Regions from separate parts of the Homo sapiens genome. Here all the other regions are linked to region 1. Evidence: promoter capture Hi-C in 16 types of primary human blood cells and fetal thymus (Javierre and others, 2016). All regions are on one chromosome and are shown on one strand. The core of a region is centred on a gene start or on the middle of the fragment in contact, and the rest is flanking DNA. Distances in the headings are between cores, read along the strand shown.

What was found. Contacts are between HindIII fragments. The CHiCAGO score rates a contact against its expected background, and 5 or more counts as called.
Region 2: a fragment that was not itself captured here is called in contact with the fragment with the promoter of DCTD in region 1 in 1 of 17 cell types (endothelial precursors); the score reaches 5.9 in endothelial precursors.
Region 3: a fragment that was not itself captured here is called in contact with the fragment with the promoter of DCTD in region 1 in 1 of 17 cell types (endothelial precursors); the score reaches 6.4 in endothelial precursors.
Region 4: a fragment that was not itself captured here is called in contact with the fragment with the promoter of DCTD in region 1 in 4 of 17 cell types (endothelial precursors, naive B cells, total B cells and 1 more); the score reaches 14.6 in endothelial precursors.

What each region holds. Positions count from the first base shown.
Region 1 is chr4:182,916,108-182,919,629 of GRCh38, forward strand. DCTD (dCMP deaminase) reads right to left here and starts at 1,279. Exons shown (of 6, transcript NM_001921.3): 1 at 1,204-1,279. RefSeq lists a silencer at 911-1,620 and an enhancer at 3,194-3,243. The HindIII fragment of the contact is 3,169 bases long and covers 1-2,379 here.
Region 2 is chr4:181,165,159-181,168,731 of GRCh38, forward strand. No RefSeq gene overlaps it. Among named protein-coding and RNA genes, the nearest start is that of LINC00290, 7.8 kb to the left of the region's middle. RefSeq lists an enhancer at 1,453-2,284. The HindIII fragment of the contact is 1,042 bases long and covers 957-1,998 here.
Region 3 is chr4:181,129,405-181,133,006 of GRCh38, forward strand. The region is part of intron 2 of LINC00290 (long intergenic non-protein coding RNA 290); the gene reads right to left. Among named protein-coding and RNA genes, the nearest start is that of LINC00290, 28 kb to the right of the region's middle. The HindIII fragment of the contact is 5,707 bases long and covers 1-3,602 here.
Region 4 is chr4:181,146,014-181,149,172 of GRCh38, forward strand. The region is part of intron 2 of LINC00290 (long intergenic non-protein coding RNA 290); the gene reads right to left. Among named protein-coding and RNA genes, the nearest start is that of LINC00290, 12 kb to the right of the region's middle. RefSeq lists an enhancer at 788-1,987. The HindIII fragment of the contact is 1,308 bases long and covers 883-2,190 here.

The DNA of each region.
Region 1 (3,522 bases), core at 29-2,528:
GAAAACATCTGAAGCCTTCCCAACTCTGATATTAACCAGATAATTTTTCCCTTCCCTTTCTCCTCAATAATCCAGATGGGACAGAAGTTATCAACTCCGAGTAATGAATTACATGAGAAGAAACTATGAAAAACGTCAAGTGCTACTCCTAAAGCAAGGTTTTTGGAACGTAGTTTACCAGGGGCAAGCAGAGACTGTCTACGGCAGGGAGAGCCCACGAAGGGGGTCCTAGGACTTCAGGGGAGTGGTCGCTTTCAAAAGGAATGAAACAAGGGCAAGGAAGGAAGACAACACAAAAACGGGGTGGGTACCACGGAGAAATCTTGAGAAAGGCGAGGAATGTGGTCTAAAGGAAGGCAAGCATCTCCCAAAACTTCTGCTTCAGGCTCCACACTTTATTTAGGCATCTGCTACAGTGCAGGGCGGCAGTGCCTAAGACAAGGATGCAGTGGAGAGTGGGTGCTGGGAACCACGGTCACCCACTGATTACGCTGCCCCACATCTGAGAGGCCTGGCAACCCCCCTAACAGGAAAAGACAGGTGCTGAATCAGCCTGGTTTCCCACCTGGCTTTAGGGCCAGCATCCATCATCGCTGTGGGGTGCTGGAGAAGTACCTACTAAATAGGAGGGAGGGGGAGCCATGGGGGGCGAGGGAAGAGCAGGAGAGGGAAGGGTCCTGTTAATCCCCTGGGCGCCTTCTCCTGGTGTGGCTGAACGCCCACTAGAGCCCTGTGAGGACTGAGGCCCAGCTGTAGAAACAGAGAGAACTGGAGCTCGAATACAACGATTCAGGAAGACACATCCGGTCACCGTCCCAGGCACACCCCACGCCGCTCGCAACCCCGTCAGCTCTGATCCAGGGCCTACACCCGGCATTCCCAACCCACACACGGGCGCAGGAAGGGATGTGGTGTTCAGACGCCCAGCACCACCTCCCGGGGCACTCCAAGGGGCCCGGCCTCGCACAGGCCGCGGCGCCCGCCGAGAAATCGACCCTGGAGTGACTGCGGGGACCCCGAGCGCCCCCACCCCGCCCGCATTCTCCGATCTAAAGGCTGAGCGCGGCCGAGGCGCCCCCAGCGTCCGCGGCCCCAGGCCCCCGCCCGGCAGCCAGCGCCCCGCGCCACGCGCTCGGGACGGTGCCACGCGGCGGTGGCTAGGGGCGCGCGGGCCGCGTACCCGCACGGCTGGCCCCCGCCCACCATCCGGTGCCGGCTCCGCGCGCAGGCCGGTGCTCGTCCCCGCCGCCGCCGTGCTCAGGGAAGGAAGTCGGGGGAGGAGGCGGGGCCGCCGCGGGGCCGGAAGGGGGCAGCGGCCCGGGCGCCGCGCGTTCGCAGGACGGCGGCTGGCCCCGGGGGCCCGAAGCCCTGAGGGGAGGGAGGGAGGGACGGCGGGGGCGGGTCGCACGCCGCAAAGGCGCTGCTCCGCGTCGCCGTACGCCTCCCGGTCCCCGTGACGCAGCCCGCGGTCCGGCCGGCGGTGTTCAGAGCCCGAGCACAAACTACTTCCCGGGTGCCAGACCGCCCCGAGGTCGCCCCGCTGCCCGGGTCACGCGTGGCGCTGGGTGGCCGCGAGTTGGGCGCTCCCGGGCCTGACTGCACGACCGTCGGGGGCTGCTTGGTTTGGTGGTGGTGGCGGTGGTGAGGTTTTCCCCACCATCCGTGTTCCATCAACTGCTTAGAGACACGGCTATGGAGATTGTGATTAAAAGACGACCCCAAGAATCTAGTGCCGTGAAACTGGCGGGGCGGGAGGTGGGGAGACCTGGTTTGGGTCTCTGGAGTGAGCCCGCTGTGTCGCAGCGTCCCCGTGGGGACCCTTGGCCGGTGGCTGGGTCACAGTTTCACACACTGGATGGGGCAGGGAACTGGGTCCGGCGGGGGCGCTGTGCCTCGAGGCTCAGTGCCTCGAAGCTAGATTTGCATTTGGCTGCGCCTGACAGGCTTTCAGTTTCTGCTCAAATTGTGCGGAAGGGCCTGAGGTGTTTGCTAAAGCCTGCCGCGCCCTGCTCGACCCGTATCACCGCACAGGCACCCCACCTGCATGTTACCTCCTGGTAATGCTCGCCCACTTATATAGTGCACATTTTGTTGCAGTTGTTTCAAAGATGAGAAAAACAGGGCAATAGGAAAGACCATCAGTGACATTTCTGGAGTCGTATGCCCCAAGCAACTTAATCTGGTTTTCATGAACTTCGTTACCCTGTGCAGACGTCTAGCCCCTTACAGTGGTTCTAGCACAGAGAATGACAGAAGAACCCCTTTCTGTTTCATTCATGGGACTTGAGGGGACTGTCAGCACTCCATAAATAACAGCTACTGTAATAATCGCCAGTTCTGATCTGCACATCCCAGATTTGAACTGCTATTCCAAACAAAAGCTTGTTAACTATATTAATTTAGCCTAACGGAGGAAGAATGATGAGAGTAAACAGTTGGTTCTATCTAATTTCTCACTACAGCAGACACATCATTCTTCATCTCATGGTCCAGCTTGTAGATTCAATAATTAAATTATGTACTGCTCTTGGTGGATGCCGGGAAAGCAAAAGGGAGAAATACTTCATCGTTAACTATAGATTTTTTTTTTTTTTTTTTTGCCTTGATAAGACTCAGGCTTGAAAGAGCCACATAGATTAAGATGATGATTTTTAATTTCAAGTTGACTTTACATGGCTGTCTTGTTGCCGCTAAAATGTGTCATATATCCCGAGCCCCTGGTTTCCCTCCTCCTCCCAAATCCACCGCTTGGTCTTTGTCACACTCATCTACAGTCTTTGGGTCTTCATAGATCCATTTCTCTTCTTACCAACCTACAACCCATACATCACCAATTGCTGCTGCTCCTTCAACCACAACATCATTAAGCTTTCTTCCTTCCTCTGCTCGGTAAAGACTGTCATACATAATTTAGTTACTTCTCATCACTCTCCATTTTGGTCAACTCACACACTCCCCTCTGCCATAAATTCAAGCTCCTGCTTGCTGAAAACACATTACCCTGAATGTTCCCGCATTTCACTGAAAGTCCCTCATCTTAAAGATGACATCATTCATAATACAGGAAACCCTCCTGGTTCAGAGTTTCACAACTTGAGGTTTCAAATATTGTACACCAATAGTGAAGCCACGCGGCCAAAGGGGGGAGAAATATATTCCTTGGTATGTCTTTCTCATTAACACCTTGTAACTCCAAGTGTGACTGTAGGTGTTAAATCTCTCTTGCTAATACCTTGTATTTGGGCTTATAATTGAGGATCTTTCTCCACCTACTACAGATACAGAGGTTAGGTATGTGTTCAGCCCTATCTAGATTGGCCTTCCTTGAGGGCCTCACACAGGTTGAACCCAATCAGCACATTCCTAAGGACTACTGTCTTGGCCCTTTTGTTTATGGGGTTTCGTGCTATCTATGTCTAGTCTAGAGCATAACCTGGAATATATTAATATTTCAGTGTGCCTTAGGTAGGGGATCCCGATTAAAAACAGAAGTCAAGGTAAGACTCTTCCAGGGCTGCCTCA
Region 2 (3,573 bases), core at 228-2,727, 1.8 Mb before region 1:
GGATTGCTTGAGCCCAGAAGTTTGAGGCTACAGGGAACTAGGATTGGGCCACTGCACTCCAGCCTGGGCAACAGAGTGAGACCCTGTCTCAAAAATATATCCATATATATATATATATATATATATATACGTGTATATATATATAGCCAATTCCTTAACTCCTTGTATTACCTCTGAAGCCTCAAAAAAGATAATACTCAAATAAGCAATTTTTCTCAATGGACAAAGCAGAAAGCTGCCTGCCTCTTGTGCTATTAGGAATGTCTTGTGATATCAGGAAAGCACTCTACCCTAAAACTTCTGTTCTCCTAACCTCAAGGCATAGCACAATCACTATTACAATTGTAAGAGCAACAATAACATCATAATACATATAGCCTCATTTATGAGTACTTACTATGTGCCAGGCACTCTACGAAGCATTCAGTATGGACACAATTGATTTTAATTCTCGTATCAACACTGTAATCTAGGTATTATTATCTCTGTTGCAAAGATGAGAATGCTGAGGTATAGAGTGGTTGAGAAGCTTGTCCAAAGTCACACAGCTAGTAAGCGGTAGGACTGTTTTTTTAAAACAAAGTCTGCTTAAATTCAAATCTTTTGAAATTCATTTCTGTGGATTTTTGAAGCCTTATTATTCCCTATAAGAATGCAAATATCTTGTCACTATGACCTCACTGCTGGAAAAAAGGAAGCAGTGAATTTCTTAGTAATTTTCCTATCCAATAGTTATAACTGGGAGACTGTAGCGTTCTTTGGAGAGTGGATTTTAGGATAGGTTTGTTTTACTATACTTTGCTTTTGGGTGGAGGGTGAAGAGATAAGTGCAGAGGATGAAGTCTTGTCAATATAGACAGTGCTTTAATAATACGCTACCTTGAGAGAGTACCTGATAACAAGCGGATAGGCAGTAGATGACAGAGACAGAAGAACGATACGGGTACATCCAAAAAAGCTTCACCCACTTTATAAATTTGCTCAGAGGGAACCTAGGCAGAAAGCCAATTCTCTACTTATTTTCTGGATCCAGTCTCATTACATTAAATGTATACACACATCCTTCTGCTCATAGTCCATTGGTCAAAGCGAGCCACGTGGACACATCCAGTTCCAAAGAGCACTCCTATCCTCTCGTGGGCCCAGAGAGAAGAGAACTAGAGGAGTAATGAACATTCGTACTAACTACCGTCATAGTAACTAACATAGTTACACATATGGAAAAATGAAATAAACCTAGCCCCTTTTTTCAAATATAAGTTATATTTTTGATGAGTTAAAGACATAAATATTAAAAATCAAATTTTAATACATTTAGAAAATAGAGCAGAATGTCTTATGACATTGAGGTAAGTGATAATTTCCTTAAAAATGAAGAATACAGACTCCTAACCAACAATATTAGTAACTATCATTGCATTGAAATGAAATACCTTTTGCAGGACAACAGTATGTTTTTAAAAAGGAAAAAATATAAGCCACACACAGAGACAAAAGCAACCCATATGGGCAATAACAAATTAATTTCCAGAGCACATAAAACATCTGAAAATCAATATGAAAAAGACAGCTAACTTAATATACAAATAGACAATAAATACAAACAGATAAGCCATGAGAAATGAAGAGACCGTCATTACACAGTGAATGCTCAACCTCACCTAGAATCAACAAAATGCAAATGCCACTGAAGTACCATTACAGACCCATCTGGAGGCGAAAGTTCAGAAGTTTAACAAGACCCCTGTTGGGGGAATATGAATAGATGGGAGTTCCCTTATATCCCGGATGGGCATGTAAATTTAGCTTACTCACTTTACATAACAAGTTGGCCTCAGGGACAAACCCCGTATCCCACTTCTTTTATTTCCCCTCTTAAATAATACACAAGTGATTGTGTTTAGGGTTGTTTGCAGTAGCACTGTTTGTAATGATAAAAACTTGAAAGCATCCACAGAAGAACAGATGCATCCGTTGGAATCCACTCCCTAAGAAGTAAGCTTTCCAATAGCAGCCACTTTTTCTATTTTGTTGGCTGTTAAGTCTTCATCACCTAGAAGAATGCCTGGAATGTAGTAGGTGCTCAATAAATATTTAATTAACTGAAGAAACAAATGATGAGATAATTGAAATACTATAAAGAATCTAAAATGAATGAACCAGAGTTACACGTATCAATATTGATATTCCTCAAATTAATGTTGAGTGAGAAAAGCAAGTTGAAGGATATGTAACTAAGAAATCATTTTTATAAATTATAAAACACGTAAAATACTCTCTATTGCTTATAGAGAGGATAAACATATATACAAATATCAAAACCCGACAAGAAGGACAAATTCAGGAAAGCATTTGGGGTCTAGCAGAGTGTTTATGAGATCAGAGAAACTAAAGGCAACCATAATCTTATTCGTATTTTTTTCTACAAAAGCTGATATGACAAGTTAGTATTTTTTAAGCCTGCATATTGCAAAGTATCTCAAGTTTTGAAAATATTGGTTTCTGTACCTCTTTTTGTATAAAATATGCAATGACAACATTATTTACTGAGAGTACTCAGCATACCCATATTAAATTCATGAAGCAACTGAGTAGGCAATTTTGTTTCTTAATAGAGTATTGTAATTTATTATACTTTGATATTCAGTAGCTTGGCAACTTATTTTAATAATTTACTAATTTCAACTATTCTATTCAAATTTCACCGGTTTAAAATATCGGTATAATTTTGTGGCTAGAGAGCACTGAACTATGTTGCAGAAGTTCATTACTGTCTTCTAGAATCTCATACGGACTGTTACATTTATATCTAACAGTAATTAATTAATAAATGCCCATGTGTAAATTACAGTATTCTGGCTAGAGTACAAAATTCTTCTAGTCTTGTCCCTGCCTTTTAGAAGCTTACCACTGAAAGTCTTTAAATGTAGAAAAGATTTCGTAATACACAAAAAGAAAAGCTACATTCGTTCAAGACATTATTTCTCAACATTTCTGTGGCTTGATATTTGCTCTTTGTTCTTCTGCATTTATAGCTCAATCCTTCTGGGCAAAGATGGAACCCTCTTAAATATTTTCTGCACTCCCAAGCATTACTATTCACACTTCATAAATAATAAAAAAAATCACGATATTTAACCTTTCATTACATTTGCTCTTAGCTATTCCATTCGTCTCTTTATGATTTGCCTCTGATTCATCTTAATGTCTTTAATGACCATTTTAATTAAACGAAAGAATTCCGCATGGCTATAGTTATGGATTACGCTAAAAGGAATATACATGTATAGCAAAATTACATATATTTGTGACCTTACGACAATCAAGGCTGTTTAATCCTTATCAGTGACATCAGTGTGGACCCAATTAGCACAGTTTGCAGCCACTTCATAATTCAAAAGAATGTGATCATTCAGCTGGAAGCACATTTGACAGAAACTCCATAGTCATGAAGGGAAAAGCTTGCAAGATCACTCACTAGGATGGAGAAGCTGTCATTCTTTCATCAGTGCTGTTGAATACTAATGTCAAGGTCAGGATGGTGTAATTTTAGGCTGCCAAAATATTGCTGGA
Region 3 (3,602 bases), core at 35-2,534, 1.8 Mb before region 1:
ACTCTCATGAGAACAGCATGGGGGAATGCTGGGGTAATTGGACCCAACATCAGGTCATGGGGGCAACAAAGTCAGGTGGAGTCAAAGGAATGAGAAAAGACAGTTTGAGAGAGAAAGTGGGATCAGGGGGCCATCGCTAAGTATGGAGGCTGAGAAGTCCCTGAGTTCTGGAAGCCCGGACTATTTATTACTGATCAAACAATGAAACAGGTGGAGAGAATGTGGGGGGTCGAAAGGGAGCATTGCATTAATCACATGATTTACAGCTGTGATGGTTTAGCATTTATATGGCCAACTGTAAGACACAATCAATCTAGGAGCCTGGGAGGGCTAGAAGCAAGGAGCCAGCAAGTCTAGACACATTCCAGAGCCAGGAGCCTGGGATTTCATCCAAGCCACGAGGGGTTTTCTGCCCTGGGCTTAGATTATGGTGCGTCAGGGTAGACTTCCACCCTTTAGCACAGAGTTTGGTGTTCCAAAGGCCACAAGGGGTTTAAGACCCTGGACCCCGGACATGTTCTAAGACTCTTTTACATTACGTCAGACATGCAAGCCCTGCCTCAGCTTCTCCCAACACTCAGCTTTTCGCAACAGGGGAAACTGTCCCTATGATCTAATCACCACCTATCTGGGGAACCAGCCCCCAGTATTTCAACATAGGTTCTTTTCTATTTTCCCTAAGTGTCGGCTGGTCTGAGAAATAAAGAGTACAAAAGCAAGAAATTTTACAGCTGTGTCTCCGGGGGTGACGTCACATGTCGGCAGGTTCCGTGATGACCCCCTGAGCTGCAAAACCAGCAAGTTTTTATTACGGGTCTCAAAAAGGGGAGGGGGTGTACGAATAGGGTGTGGGTCACAGAGATCACGTGCTTCAAAGGCAATACGATATCACAAGGGCAGAGAGGCAGAGTGAGATCACAAGGCCAGGGTGAAACTAGAATTACTGATGAAGGTCCATGTCCTTCTGGGCACACATTGTCATTGACAAACATCTTAACAGGAAACAGGGTTCGAGAGCAGACAATCGGTCTGACTAGAATTCGCCAGGCTGGAATGTCCTAATCCTAATAAGCCTGGGAGCGCTGCAGGAGACCAGGGTGTATTTCACCCCTTATCTATAACTGCATAAGACATAAGACAGACACTCCCAGAGCGGCCATTTTAGAGACCTCCCCCTGGGAATGCATTCGTTTTCCCAGGGTTATTCTTTGCTGAGAAAAGAATTCAGTGATATTTCTCCTATTTGCTTTCTGAAAGAAGAGAAATATGACTCTGTTCTGCCCGGCCTAGCAGGCAGTCAGACTTTATGGTTATCTCCCTTGCTCCCTGAAAATCGCTGTTATCCTGTTCAAGGTGCCCAGATTTCATATTGTTCAAACACACAGGCTTCACAAACAATTTGTACAGATAACACAATCATCACAGGGTTCTGAGGTGACATACATCCTCAGCTTATAAGGATGACAGGATTAAGAGATTAAAGACAGGAGTAAGAAATTATAAAAGTATTAATTTGGGGAACTAACAAATGTCCATGAAATCTTCACAATTTATGTTCTTCTGCCATGGTTTCAGCCATTCCCTCTGTTCGGGTTCCCTGACTTCCCGCAACAACCACCCACCAGGTCTTTCCCTTAACACCTGGGGATTACAATTCGAGATGAGATTTGCGTGGGGACACAAAGCCAAACCATATCCTATCGGATGTATTGCCCCATTAGTGTCATGTGGGCCTTGACATACTGTCCACATCTTATCTGCTACATCACCTGGCAGGGTGCCTTCATTTGGGAGCAGAATCTTAAAATACAGGTCTTACCTATTATTAAGTACCTCAATAAAATGGTGTTAATTCGTTTAAAAGGCCCTTCCATTACAACTATAATAAGTGTTTATTAAGAGTGTGTGTATGTGTGTGTGTGCATTTTAGAAAAACTGATGGTCATGTTAACCAAGTTTTTAGTAGAACTCTGAGAGCCAAAAGTATCGTGAGACTCTCAAAAGCCACAGAAGAAATCGTAATTTGTCTTCCCTCACCTGAGAAAGAGACAATTCCAAAAACATCTCTCTTGACTCAATTGATTTCCATAGGCCTTAAATCTTTTGCTTATTTCTCTAATATATGCATTAGTTTATCTCCAAAATAACAAAAACTGAGGACCTAATAATGTTGGATCTTGGATCATACCACTTTCCTCATCTTGGCTGACCTCATTTTTTCTGACAGTGTAGGTTGGAAAGACAATAAGCAATGCCTATTTCAGTGTTGCCCTAAAATTTGTGTGTGTAGCCAAAGGGAGGCAGAGAGAGAGTAATCATTATAAAGACTCTCTCACAGTGCATGTAGCCCAATCTAAAAGCAGATGATGTCTTTCCAGACAGTGGTCAAGAGAAGAACCAACCAACGGACAGAAAGTCACAGCTGCTCTTTTTAATTTTTTTTTAATTTTTGTGATTACGTAGTAGGTATGTCTTGCTCTTGACCTAATGCTGAGGGAAATACACAGCAAGAACCTGGCCTCCCTTTGCCTGAGCCCAGCTGATTAATTGGAACAGGCATGCCCACATTCATTTAAGCAACTTTGTTCAAAATTAAAGGAGTATAGGTAGAAATAATTTATTTGGAGCCTTTCTTCTGGGAAAATACAAAGGCTAAGTGTAATAAAAAGAAGGAAAGGGAAATGAACTGGTGTGGGGACAAACTTCCAGGGAATCATTTATAAAAGTAAAAGTGGAAATTAGAAAATATGTGTAAAGTGTGAAACTCTGTGGAGTCCTATACAACCTAAAAGCAGAAACTGGGGAGGGGCAAACCTAAAATCGTACTCACAGGCATGTGGGAGATTCTGAATACACCCGTTTCCAAGGAGGGGCCAAACAGTCACAGAGAAGGACAGCCTCTCTCTTCCGACTTGACTAGATTTGTTGTCTAACAAAACTTTTTCGGCACCTTGTCAAGGAATACATTTTCTCAGAGTTGAGAATTTAATTCTTTTTAAAGAGCACAATAATACAGCATGGAAGCCTTTAGGGTGAATTTGCTCTTTGCAGGAAGAGCTCCAGTGGCAACCAGGGGCCATGGTGTTCTGTATCCCCAAGTGGGGTCCGGCTCTGTGTTGAGGGTTCAATGAAGGCGTCTTCTGAAGGGCCAGAGGAAAGGGCTGTTGATAGTCTTTTGGCAATGGTGAAGTGCCACTTGGGAATAGTGTTCCTGGGAGAGGGGACCTGTGGTCCTCACGTTAAGTAGAGCTAATGAAAAATAGACTCCAGCCCAAAGAGAGCTCTGGGAGTGAGCTTTCAATAAATCCAAAGAGCGGCTAAGAGAGGGCCATCTTGCCTGGGCCCTGGGGTAGGGAGTGTTCAAAAGAAGGGAAGGAATGTCTGTTCCTTTTCTTTGACAGTCTTTGTTCTGTTGGTGAAATAAAATGATCAAGTAATCTGTGAACATCTGTGTCTATTTTACTGGAAGAGCCAGACTTGGTAGGGTACAAAGCAGGAAACCACTGAATTACGCTCATCACTGACCGTGTAAACCCACTCTATTAACTCATTCTTCCTCATCCCTGGACAGAACCTGAGCCAAGTATTTTGGTTCTTCTGGC
Region 4 (3,159 bases), core at 287-2,786, 1.8 Mb before region 1:
CAAAAAATGCAGACAATTGAGCAATGCAAAACATTGGTTAATGTAACTTGCTGTCCATTTCAAGAACAAGTGCATTAGCAGAGCAGTGAGGAGTGAGAGAGCCTTAAGTGGCTAATGCTCACACCCGATGGTGCAGAGGGAAGCTATTAGACCTTTTCCAAATAGTTCTGGAAGACTGTGTACAGGAGCTGGGATTTCATGAGCTATTTGGATGCTAGAAGAGAGATAGCTTGGCAGACAGAAAGAGAGAGCATTCCAAGAATATGGCACAGTTTGGAAAAGGCTTGTGTGGAATGACTAGGTGATGGAGATATTAAGCCAATTGGCTTGAACTGAGTGGGGGCTCCTTCCAAGGAAGGATTTCAAATTTGATTCAAAACAAAATAATGGCTTTCTGTAACATTATTATGACAACTAACAATATATTTTTGAATCCAGTGTGTGCTACACAAATCCAGACTCAGGTCCTGGAGTTCCTAGGATAAGAAGTCTCCTGAGTAATGATGGGAGAATAAGACACGGGAAATAACAGCATCAGCTACCCTCAGGCATAAGCATGGCTACCCCCACTCCACCTACTCCAATCCATGGAGCCCAAGAAGCAAACCGGCAGGACAGCTACTATAGAAGGAGAAAGGGTTGTCCTCAACCCATTGCTGGGAGGAAAGAGAAATGGGGCCTCAGTCTTGGCATCCCTGCTCCTGTCTTTGGTGTTGTGTTCATGAGCACTGAAGTTCTGAACACAGGGCTCAGGGGCCCTGGGCCTTGAGAGGAAGGCCACGGTCTATACCTGCCTTGTGTTTCACTTCAAAACCTAAGTAAGAAGGTATTTATCGACTGCCATGCTTTTGAAAATTCTAAGAATATTTGTCGCTTTAAAGAAGCTTATCAGCTAAATGAAGAGAGAACTCATATCCATTTGAGAAGTTACAGAAGGACAATAAAATTAAGAACTGTCACAAAGAGACACTCTTGCCTGTCAAATGATGGGATCTGACAAGTGTGGAGGAAGGCAGTATTACTTTAGGTTGGAAAGACCATTAGGCGGAGCTAGAATATGAGTGTGTCTTCAAGAATGAGTCAAATTTAAACAACCAGGTAGGGCAGAGCATTGTGGGAAGGCACAAAACCTCAGAGGAAAAACATGGTGGCCAGAAAGGCAGGTCAAGATGGAAGGGCACTACCATGCTGTCCAAAGCAGAAGGGCCTAGAGGACGTCAGAGGGAGAGGAGGCAGGAGAGGAGGTGAGGGCTTCATCCACGACAGGAAATTGAGCTCATTTCCTCTGTTGTTGCAAGGAATGAACTCATCAGAGATCAGCACTTTTTGCCCAAGTTCTGCGAAAGAAAAGTTTATATTTTGAAAACCTTTAATAAGTTATTTTTTCCCTTTCCTAATACAGTGTTGAATTGCCAGTGCATAGCGGAGGTAAATCATCCACCCAATGAGATGATTTTGCTAGCACCATCTGAAGAGCTACCAGATAATTTGTCTTTGTGAAGGGCCGTAAGCATATTCTTGAGCTCTGCTACTGCTCCCAGAGCAAGCACCTTGCGGAAGGGCTCTGGAGTGCAGCATTTGGCACGTCCCGCTGCTCCGGCCATCTGCTGCACCTTACAACGTGGTCTGGCAATTCAGAAGATGGCACGGGCGGCCCGCAATATATCCATATGTTATTCTCCTCCTCCTCGCTTGAGAAACAGAACAGCCATCTTCAAGACACCACCAGGAATTCCAAGTCACGTGACTTCCTTTGTTTCCTCCAGACCAAAGATATCAACATTTATTTTAAAAGGGCAAAAACACACAGCCAGTCAGTCTGAACAAAAACCCTGTGAAGGTGTTATTACCTTACTAGTTAGCCTCAGAGTATGGGAGAGGGAATTCCCGCTCTCCTCACCCCCCACAAAAAAATGCCAACTAATGTTGAGTGCCCTTACCTGACTTGGGAGGAGTGGTTCCCGGGTATAGTAAGGGTTTCTGTGAAGTTATGATCAGCATCACTACTTTTTGTAGTTGTGTACGAGATTTTGTAACCTAAAGCCTTGCGACTCAACGTTGGTCCATGGACTAGAAGATTCTGCGTCGCCTAGGAGCGGGTTAAAAATTCAGAATCTAAGACCCACCCAGATCCTCTGAATCAGAAGCCGTATTTTCACAATGCCCCCAGGTGATTCGGGGGCACATTAAAGCTTGGAATGTACTGATCTGGAAGAGGATACTCAGAAAAACTTCCGCCCATGTAGTTTTGAAGATTCTGGGAAAAATAAACTTGATATAATAAATGAAGTAGGACTACTATGCCATCTAGGAATTTGTACAGAATGCTTACAGAGATTTTTTAACTCATAAACTTTATTCCCCAAATAAAGTTTTTCTTGTTTTTGTTTTTGTTTTGTTGTTGTTGTTAATAATAAGTGAGTCCATAGCATTTATCCGAGGAATCCATACCCACAGAAGTAAAAGGACATCCCAGGGTTATGTTATCAGCCCCCCTCCCTCCTTAGGAAGCATTCACTGGAGAACTTCTCTGGAGCCTTGTTTCAATCTGAGATCTGCACTGAACTGACCACTTCTTGATTCAGGACACTGAAATCTCTGCATATGGGTTTATTTAGAGGAGAGGCTGCGAACGCTAAAGATTTGCTTGTTAACCTTATCAGCAGCTGCTGTGTGCTGTGGTCCAGTGCTCTAATCTGGGTGTCAGGCCTGGGCACGGCATCCTCCACGCTGGTGGCTGCCTTTTCTTCTCCTGCTGGCCGAGTCTGCTGTGGACTCTATTAATGAGGGGTTTGAAACCCCCTTTGGCAGGGAAGAGTGTCTTCCTGCTTGCAGTTTGAATTGAAAATGAATTCCCTATTTGCACAGTACCATGACACTTCGTATAATATCATTTACTGTCCCCCAGGCAGGAGTAGTTCTGGACAATACTTCTTAAACACTTTATGCCCAATATCATGTGGGTTACAGTCGCTCATATGGAAAAGAAAAGGACAGTTTAAAGCTTGAACAAGAAGAACAAAAATGCCTCCTAGGCCTCCAAAATGTCCACCTAAGATTCCAGCTTTTAAGGCAGAAAAATGACTAACAGGGACCATATTTTGAAATCATTAAAAGTGGATGTGTTTAGCCGAGAAAATGAAAGAAGACATAGGAAAA